3 separate regions of the Homo sapiens genome follow, and all the other regions are linked to region 3. The links are contacts of gene promoters, found by promoter capture Hi-C in human tissues and cell types (Jung and others, 2019). All regions are on one chromosome and are shown on one strand. The core of a region is centred on a gene start or on the middle of the fragment in contact, and the rest is flanking DNA. Distances in the headings are between cores, read along the strand shown. Region 1 overlaps PID1 (phosphotyrosine interaction domain containing 1). Region 2 overlaps DNER (delta/notch like EGF repeat containing). Region 3 holds the start of CCL20 (C-C motif chemokine ligand 20).

Region 1 (3,590 bases), core at 861-3,360, 1.4 Mb before region 3:
ACCAGGAAAGTAATATTGGTAAAATACTATTTTGTAATTTTAGGACCTGATTCATATTTTATCAGTTGTTCCACCAATGCTTTTTTATGAGGTATATGTCAATTTAAGATCATATATTGTATTTAGTAGTCATATCTCTTTAGTATTCTTTAATCTGGTCAGTTCTACTGCCATTCTCTGCCTTTTATAACTGTAACGTTTTTGAAGAGTTCTGGCCTGTTATTCTTGACAGTGTCTCTCAGTTTGGGTTTGTCTGTATTTTCTAATGATCACATTCAGGTTATGCATTTTTTGGCAGGACTACTACAGAAGTGGCGTTGTAACCTTCTCAGTATATTATATTTAGAGACAAGTTATGTCAATATTTCTCATTGTTAGAGATGGTTATTTTGGTCACTTAGTCAAGGTAATGTCTGCCAGGTTTTGCCAAAGTAAAGTTCTCTTTGTAAAATAATTATCTTCTGGAAAGATTCTTTGAGACAATATAAATATCTTCATTCTCATCATATTTAGCCCACTAATTTTAGCCTTAAACAATGATTCATGCCTGAAACATTGCTATAGTGTTTGCAATATGGTAACTTTAGATTTTGATAATTTCTTCTATATTTATAAAAGTATAACTTTACTGTAAGGATGAGTTTCTTCTTTCCTCCCTTCTTTCGTTTCTTCTTTTCTTCTTTCCCTTTCTTTCCTTCCTTCCTTTTCTCTCCCTTCCTTTCCTTTCCTTTCCTTCCCCTTCCACTTCCCCTTCCCCTTCCCCTTCCCCTTCCTTTCTTTTCTTTTCAGTACTGTTCATTGATATTTTTTTTAGTCTAGGGTTATAATCCATTACAACCATTATTTATTGTTACTGAAATTGTCTAATGTTGGCCAAGTTGAGAGCTATTTCAGGTTATTCCCAGCGTTCATCCGACAAGTCCTCATCATTTTATGAGCACTATCTTCATTTCTAGCTCAACAAGATGCCCTGGGATCATCTTTTGCTTTTCTTGCCCCAGTCCTAGAATTAGCCATTTATCCAAGGAGAAGGACATTGACTATTAATTTCATAGGGAGTAATATCAATGCAACAGTTCAGTTTCAAAGTCAGCATGGAGATTAAAATCATGTAGAGTCAAAATTTTACTTGGGAATCTCTTAGGAAGGCACCATGTTAGAGGTCAGAATTTATTTCTTAGTCTGTTCCACTCAGCAAATTTTCCCTCTAGCATTGAGCAATCAGATGAAGCCATTTGAATGAATTAAAGGGCCATATTACTTGAAACTATTTTTTCTCTGAAAAATAATTTTAATGAGGTATACTCGACATATAATAAACCATGCATATGTAAAGTGCACAAGTTGGTAGGTTTGGATATTTGTAAACCTGCATGAGACCATCGCCACAAAGCTTTCTTCATGTACCTCACTCTCCTCTCTTCGTTCCTCACTATCCCCAGGCAACAACTGATCTCCTCTCAGTCACTATCCATTGATCTATTTCCTACAATGCTATATAAATGGAATCATACAGTATGTTCTCTTTTTTTGTTTGTGTTCTCAGGATAATTGTTTTATAATTTATGTTGTAGTGTGCATCTGTAGTTTATTCCTTTTCACTTTGTTGAGGAGCATTCCATTGTGTGGATATACCACAGTTTGTCCATTCGCTTGATGAGAAACATTTAGGTTGTTTCTAATTTTCTGCTCTTAAAAATATAGCTACTGTGAGCATTTGTGTACAAGTCTTTTATAAGGACATCTGCTGTCATTGCTAATTTTTCATTGCTAGACAATAGAAAACAATAGAATTTTGTATATTGATTTTGTGTCCTTCAACTTTGCTAAACTCATCCATTCTAGTAGTTTGCTTTTTTTTAGGTTATCTAAAAGAATTGTTGGATTGTCTACAAAGATAATCAAATTTTCTATGAATAAAGACAATTTTACTTCTTCCTTTCCAATATGGAGTCTTATTATTTCTTTTTATTGCCTTATTGCACTGGTTAAAACCATCAGTGTAACATTGAATATAGTTTTAAGGTCATTGCCTGTTTATTATAACATTGTTGTCAGTTCTGGGTAGGCTTTCATTAACTGGTTTATTAACCCTCATGGATTTTATTTTCTTCCATTTTTGCATGTCTCATGTCTGACAATTTTTTTTTTTATTTTTGAGACTGGGTCTCGCTCTGTCACCCAGGCTGGAGTGCAGTGGCTTGATCATAGCTCACTGCAGCCTGGAACTCCTGGGCTTAGTGATCCTGCCACCTCAGCCTCCCAAGTAGCTGGAACTATGGCTAATTTTTTGTAATTTTAGTAAAGATGGGGTTTCACCATCTTGCCCAGGCTGGTCTTGAACTCCTGAGCTTAAGCGGTCTGCCTGTCTCAGCCTTCCAAAGTGCTGGGTTTACAGGCATGAGCCACCATGCCCGGCCTTGTCTGGTGATTTTTGATTGGATGTTAGGTCATTTAAATTTTACCTTATTGGATACTGGATATTTTTGTATTCCTATATTCTTCAACTTTTTGTTGTTGTTAGATTCTGTTAAATTACTTGGAAGCAATCTGATCCTTTGAATCTTCCTTTTAAGATTTGTAGGTGAGACCAGAGCAACATGTAGTCTAGTGCTAATTTCCCCACTAGTGGCACTAGAACTTCTTTATTTCTCTACTCATTGCTCTGTGACTCATGAGTTTTTTCAGTCTGGCTGATGCGAGCAGGCAATGTAACTGGCCCTGTGTGAGCACCAGCACTCTAACCTCTTATTCTTTCCAGTGGATGTTGTCCAGCCTTGAGTTTCCTTTTATGCATATGCTGATCAGTAGTCAGCTGAATATTTAAGGAGACCCTCTGAAAATTTACAGAATTCTCTCTCTGTGAAGTTCTCTTCTCTTGTTTGTCCCCCCAGGCTTTCATCTCTGTCTCCTTAGCTCAGGGATTCCGCTGCACCCTGCTTGTGTTTCTCCTCCCTGCTCTGCAGCCTGCAAACTGTTTCAAGGCAGGAAGCTGGGCAGGTGTACATCTTACCTCATTTGTTTCACATCTCTCAGGGGCCACTGTCCTTCATTGCTTCATACCCAGGGTCACAAACTGTTGTTTCTTAACTTCTGGTTGTTTTAAGTAGGAGGGTCATCCCTGTTCATGTTAATTCATCCTGATTAAAAGTGGAAGTAAACAATATTGATTGTTAGCATTTTAATTGTATTCAGTGCAACAAGATACTCACACCACAAGGGGCATGTGGGAATAACTCAGAGAAGAGCAGATTTCTAAGTACTTGTTCATGTCCCATCCTCATTGAGTGCAATGACAGACAGACATGTTGACCTGTTTATATTGTGTTATATTATTATTCTATCATTCACTGACTCACACCCTCTTAGTTCAATTTTCATAATTTAAATACAGGTAGGAGTCAATTCAGCTATACTTGAATTTTTTTTTTTTCATGAGTAGGTGAAATTTTTGTTCTGTGCTCCTAGCATTTGGCGTTTTACATCAGGGGTTGCAAATTCAAATGCCTAAAAGGGACAAGCAAGTAATGTATGGGAGTGAATTTGGTAAGGCATACAATGACTATAAAAATAGCAAATGGTGTTTAGTA
Region 2 (3,392 bases), core at 555-3,054, 1.6 Mb before region 3:
AACTTCGAGTACATATGGACACAAAGAAGGGAACAATAGACGCTGGATCCTGCTTGAGTGGGGAGGAGGATGAGGGTCGAAAAACTACTTACTGTGTACTATACTTATTACCTGGGTGAGAAAATAATCTGTACACCAAACCCCTGAGACATGTAATTTACTTATATGAAAAACCTGCCTGTGTATCCCTGAACCTAAAATAAAAGTTAAAAAAAATCACAATCAAATGTTGTTAACTTGTTAGGCACATGTTTATCTTTTACCAAACAGTTTATATTGTGAATAAACATATTGCCAAAATCATTAAAAAATTACAATCCCACTTGGTTTTATAGGAATTGCCTAAAGAGGTCCTTAGTTGGTTGGACTGAAGTCTTAATGATATGTTGATGATTACCAAGATCATGTTTCAATTTTACTCTACCAGATGGTTTCTGATGCCTCAGATCAGAGTGAATGTCCTAGGTTCAATTCATTAGTAGGTGTTGCTTTTAGATTGGATAAGCCCAATTAAAGTAGGTCTAAACTAAGGAATATGTAGTACCTGGTGGTACTATTTTGAGAAGACTCCTCTTTACTACTCCGTAAAAATACCTTTTTTACCAGGTCTCTGATGCCTAAAAGTTTATCTTTGTGGTTTTATTTATTTAAGTTAGACATTGTACCTGGCAATCAACCTTTGTATTAGTTAGTCATTGCTGTGTAACAAAACATTCCAAGACTTGATGGCTTAAGAAAACCACTTATTGTTTGTGATTCTGTGGGTTGATAATTTGGGCAGGGTTTAGCTGGGATGTCTCTTCTCTATTCCATGTGCCCACTCATGCTTTTGTGGTCAGCTGGCAAGCCAGCTGGGGACTGCCGGGTCCTGGATGACCCCTCTTATATTGCTGGCAGTTAGCTGGAGTGATGGGGGCAACTAAGCCACATGTCTCTCTTCATCCAGCAGACCAGTCGGGGCTTCTTCCCACGATTGTAGGGTTCCGAAAGCAGCAACAGAACACAAGGTCCCATATGCATGCTCTCTTTAAAGCTGCTTCTTCTGTTGTTTGCCAATGTCCCAGTGGCATGAGCAAGTCACAGGGCCAAGCTTATAGACTCTGTTTCTTGATAGGAGGAGCTGCACAGAACTTGTAGCTATTTTTTTTTCAATCTACCATAACCTTAAACCTAAATATGTGAAGAATGTGATGTGATGTGTCTGTGTGTGTGTGTGCACGTGTGTGTGTGTGTGTGTGTGTGTATATATATATATATATAAATTGTCTCTATATATGTAAGCAGATTTGAGGAGAAAGAAAGTTGAAAAACAGTGTTTAATCTTTGGTTGCTTGAAAAGAAATGGTGAGGTCCCCTGAACTTGCCTACTCAAGTGATAAGGAATGTCTAGGAGAAAACTTCTTTACTTACCTCATAATTCCATATAGATTGAGCCTTGTTCCTGGCTTTATTTCAAAGAAGTTTCATTTTTCCCTTCAGGTTATTAACATATATATTCTCCTAGAATCTTAAGTCACCAAATAAAAACACACTTCTGATTTTTCACTGCTTTATCAACTCTTAAATGAACAAATGCTGTGTGTTTAGGCATCCTTAATTTAATAAAGAAAGTTGGAAGAGAATTCAGAATTTACTCATATAATTGAGTTGTCATTTCTGATTTATTTACATTTTGAAATTTTCTTTGTAATCCAGTTGCATCAAGGCTGAATTTCCCCATGAAATTCTTTAGCTGAAGTCCTGACTGTCAGCTTCAGCCCTTGGGCATTTGTAGCCCTTAGGGATAGTGGCCAAGTGGAAGGTGTGTGCTTCTAAAACTGTTCTTAAAGGATCATGAGAAATTTCCCTGGTGTTTAACAATATTTAGGATTTAGCATATTTACTCGAGAATGGCAATGACTAATAGAAAGCTTAGAGGATGACACGATTGCATTGTGCCTGTGAATGTCCCCAGTGATAGGGGAATGAAAGTAAATACAGCCAGAAAGATAATCGTGGTCTGCATTGTGGACTCCGTGTACCAAAATTTTCTGGAATAATCCCAGTCACAGTATTTTGTTTTCCATCACACAAATACTTTGCTACCAAACTATGTATCTATGAGGCCACCTCTGATATATAATTGGAAACAGCGCAACTTTGTCAGATCATGGTTCCCAATTTTTGGTTTGCAAAAATTGTTACCTTAGATTGTTTATGCTTTTTTCTTTCTTTCCTTTTTAAAGTAGAGCTTTTATGTTTTATTCAAAATATATTTTAAAAGATAAGCAACATAAATTACCTTCAGAGCAAATTTTCGGCAAGATAATTAGGAATGCAAAAAGCTAATTCACAAATGTCTAGTATATGATAGTCAATTTGAAACACACTTAATCTTTACAAAACTATAATATTATTTTTAATATTACCTACTGGTCTGTATGTTACTCAAAATCTTAATCTTGGTGCTGTATTAAATACTTCTAATATCTTCCATTTTCTGACATTCCTTTCTGCAAAAATATTATTCCTGTGGGTTAAGGAAGCTAGATCAGAGATGTGGGAAAAATTGCCCTCACGAATTTGAATATGAACTTGTTTATCCTCATTCCGCTTAGGCATGTGTGACTCCTAGTCATACAGTGAGGAACTAGAACACATTGTGCCACAGCTATATCCTTATTACTTTCCCTCATTCTGGCCTTTCTTTTCCAATACGTCATTTGTTGTCACTTTGGGATTCCTTTGTGTTACTTTTTTCCCTTATGTAAACCTCGAGAGGAGGGTAGCTTCCTTTAGTCCATGTGCCGATGGCTGGTAGATCATTTGACTATATGTTTCACTGTTGGTTTATTTATATGCCCATAGCTGGTACATGTTCTGACCATATGTTTTGCGGTTGGATTAGTTAAACGCGCTTAGGAGATGCCATGGCTGTTAAAATACAAAACCGGCTGGGCACGGTGGCTCACGCCTGTAATCCCAGCACTTTGGGAGGCCAAGGCGGACGGATCACATAGTCAGGAGTTCGAGACCAGCCTGACCAACATGGTGAAACCCTGTCTCTCCTAAAATTACAAAAATTAGTCAGGTACGGTGGCAGGCACCTGTAATCCCAGCTACTCAGGAGGCTAAGGCAGGAGAATTGTTTGAACTCAGGAGACGGAAGTTGCAGTGACCCTAGATTGCGCCTTTGCACTCCAGCCTGGGCGACAGAGTGAAACTCCATCTCAAAACAACAACAACAACAACAACAACAAAACACAAAAAATCCCATAACCACACTATATGTAGCATTTTCCTTGGACAACCCCTACCATTTCCCCGCATTTGTGAGAGTCAGAGATTGTGGGAGACGTTGTATACTTTTCTATTCTATAGCTTAGTGGCTCTCAAACTTGAGTGCTCATCAG
Region 3 (3,330 bases), core at 251-2,750:
GACGAATAAACCACTTAGAGGAGGAGTTTCAATGTCTTGGAAACCTTTGTAAGGTCGTTGAGAACCAATCTAACATAGTTTACAGTTCTTTGAAAAAACAGTTTGTGTGCCGAGAAGTTTTGGTTCAATAATAGAATTGAGAAACACAGGACTTCTCATAAGTGGGATATCTTCAGTAAGAAATACAAATTGACAATATTTCATTTCAGTTCACTATAATCATTCAAGAATATGAGCAGCCCCTTCCCTACTGCTTGAAGGAACCCTTATGTAGATAAACTTCCAAAAGCAGAAAATGAATAAATTGGCAGATTTTAATCTATTATCTGGCTACTAAGTATTGAGAAATAGAGCTACAAAGGGAAATATGATTTATAGGAGTGAAAACACTTTGAAATTGTCCTATTAATTAATAGGAATGTTTAATTTTGTTCATAAAAGTTCAACATGTGGTTGGGCATGGTGGCTCATGCCTGTAATCCCAGCACTTTGGGAGGCCAAGGAGGAAGGATTGCTTGCCTCCAGGAGTTCGAGACCAGCCTGGGCAACACAGTGAAACCCTGTCTCTACAAAAAAAAAAAAAATGTAAAAAAATTAGCCAGGTGAGTGGCACACGGCCGTGGTCCCTGTTATTCAAGAGGCTGAGACTGGAGGTTCACTTGACTCCAGGAGGTTGAGGCTGTAGTGAGCTGTAATCATGCCACTGCACTCTGGCCTGGGTGATGAAGTTAGACCCTGCCTCAGAAAAAAAAAAAAATTCAATGTGCATTTTTAGGAATGCACCTGTTGCTAAAAGTGTTGTGTGACTATTGAGCAATAAAGCAATACTTGGACATTCCCGAGTCAGATTACAACATGCTGTAAGGTAAGGGATTAATGTTATTTTAAAGTTGGCAAGCAATGTCCCCCATGCCTTGTGGGGATGTTGATGTCAGGTATTATAATCTACTTCTAAAGGATGAGTTTTGAACTTTACCAAAACTATTAAGTTGGGAGGTACGAAAGTTGGGGACACAGGAGGATTCTCTACATTTCAAAATGGCCCCATCTACTGGTAACATTACACACTTTATATCACTCCCAGAAACATCACTTTGGCTTTATCCTGAAGTTTAGGGATCTCTAAGAGCCCACCACTCCCCAAATCTGCTGAGATTGACAGCAGAGAGGAAAGCCTGATCCGCAGCAGTAACTCTTCTCTCCTCCACTCCACCATGGGCAGACAACTTCCATCACTACCTCTTGTATACTTCCTAACAGTTTTCCATCCCTTAGGGACCCCCAGTTGAGCTCAAGGCTAAAAGGAAAATGAAAATAGTCTTTCTTCTGTGCTAGCGGAAAGAGCGACACTTACCTTCTGATTCGCCGCAGAGGTGGAGTAGCAGCACTGACATCAAAGCAGCCAGGAGCAAACTCTTGGTACAGCACATGGTTTTTAGCTCAAAGAACAGATCTGCTCAGTGTTGAGTACCCAGTTCTTTGGGAGTGCTGTTATATTCTGACAGCAGCCTGGGATGGCCCTATTTATAGCAAATATTGGGAATGTACACAGAAGGCGTGTTGCCACATGGGGTTTTCCCCATTGATCAACTGGCCCCATCATGTCATCATAAAAAAAACCCGCAAGGAAAACTTCCTGCTTTTTCCTCATATTGGGAAGGTGCGAAGGTCAGGGTGGGGGACAGGAAGTTGAGAAGGGGAGAATCCTGTTAAATTCTTTGTATTTGCAAAGAGCAAAAGCAGCTCAGCCCTGTGACCCAGAAAAGACTTTCATCCAGTTTTAACTTAATCATTTTTGTGTCTGAAAATAGAGGATTAACAGCGATACAAAGGTCAGCCCCACACAGGAACATTCCAGAACTCCTATTGTTACACCCTATTTGCTTTCCAGAACCAGTCAAGGAGGAGGGGGAGGAGGAGCAGGTGGGATGCCAGGCATACTCTGCTACACATTTACCATCACATGGTTGAGGTTCAGCTGTCATGAAGAAGACCCTGAGTTGCTAGACTAACATTCAGAGCAGGTACTATAACAGTGCTACAGTACTGTCCGCAGTTAGAGTGGAAAATATCAGCCTTTAAGTAAGGCTCAAACCTCAGCTTCACCTTGATTTAATGTCAACTCTTCTAAGAATCTTATACATTCACATGGCTTTAATCAATATTGCAGTTCAGAAAATAATCCTTACCTACCTTTAACTCTCCATGATGATGTACTAATATAACTCAATATAGAGCCTCAGAATTGTTGAGGAAAGAAAACCTATCAGCAGTAGCTAGTCAGCACAGCAAATGTCAAATAACAGTACTAATGATGATAATGTAATATGAATCCCTAACCTAAGGCAGTATAAGAACTCTCCACTAGACCCAAATAGGTTGAAAGTAAAAGGATCAAAAGAAAGGTATACCAAACAGTAAACAAAAGAGAACTGGAGTTGGTGATGCCTATATCAGACAAAATAGATTTTTTTTTAATGTTACCGGAAATAAAAAGGGACTTTCATGGTAACACAAAATTAACCCATTGGGAAGATGTAAAACCTATAACCATATATATACCTAACAGTAGCACCCCAAACTACAGAAAGCAAAAACTGACAGAATTGAAGGGAAGAATAGGAAATTTTATTTTATTTTATTATTATAATTTCTTTTGAGACAGAATTTTGCTCTTGTTGCCCAGGCTGGAGTGCAGTGGCACCATCTCGGCTCACTACAACCTCCGCCTCCTGGGTTCAAGCGATTCGCCTGCCTCAGCCTCCTGAGTAGCTGGGACTACAGGCACGTGCCACCACGCCCAGCGAATTTTTGTATTTTTAGTAGAGACGTGGTTTCACCATGTTGCCCAGGCTGAACTCCTGACCTCATTACAGGCATGAGCCACCGTGCCCAGCAGAATAGGAAATTTAACAATAAAAGTTGACAGCTTTGGTACCACATTTTCACTAATTAATAAAATTTAGGCAGAAGATCCACAAGAAAATAGAAGACTTGAACAACACTATAAGCCAAATAGACTTAGCAGGCATCGAAGGACTACTCTATCCAACATCAACAGAATAGTTGCACATGGAATGTTCTCTAGGATAAAGCATATGGTAGGTTATGGAACAAGTCTCAGTAAATGTAAACCGACTGAAATCACATAAAGTATACATTCAAACCACAATGGAATTAAATCAGAAATCAGTAACAGACAGAAAGGAAACCACATATTCCTAAATAACCAATGTGTCTGGCCAGGAGTGGTGGCTCATGCCTGTAATCCTAGCATTTTGGGAGGCCGAGGTGGGTGGACTGCCTGAGGTCAGGAGTTCGAGACCAGAC

Evidence for each region. The method cuts DNA at HindIII sites, captures the fragments that hold promoters and counts their contacts. A contact is called where the count stands out against the background at its distance.
Region 1: a contact is called between a fragment that was not itself captured here and the fragment with the promoter of CCL20 in region 3, in 1 of the 25 tissues and cell types used here (heart left ventricle).
Region 2: a fragment that was not itself captured here is called in contact with the fragment with the promoter of CCL20 in region 3 in 1 of the 25 tissues and cell types used here (heart right ventricle).

What each region holds. Positions count from the first base shown.
Region 1 is chr2:229,164,148-229,167,737 of GRCh38, reverse strand. The region is part of intron 1 of PID1 (phosphotyrosine interaction domain containing 1); the gene reads left to right. Among named protein-coding and RNA genes, the nearest start is that of PID1, 110 kb to the left of the region's middle. The HindIII fragment of the contact is 8,857 bases long and covers 1-3,590 here.
Region 2 is chr2:229,432,777-229,436,168 of GRCh38, reverse strand. All of the region lies in intron 8 of DNER (delta/notch like EGF repeat containing), which reads left to right. Among named protein-coding and RNA genes, the nearest start is that of PID1, 160 kb to the right of the region's middle. The HindIII fragment of the contact is 3,048 bases long and covers 281-3,328 here.
Region 3 is chr2:227,812,012-227,815,341 of GRCh38, reverse strand. It overlaps CCL20 (C-C motif chemokine ligand 20), which reads right to left and starts at 1,500. Exons shown (of 4, transcript NM_004591.3): 1 at 1,355-1,500. The coding sequence starts at 1,430. The HindIII fragment of the contact is 20,627 bases long and covers 1-3,330 here.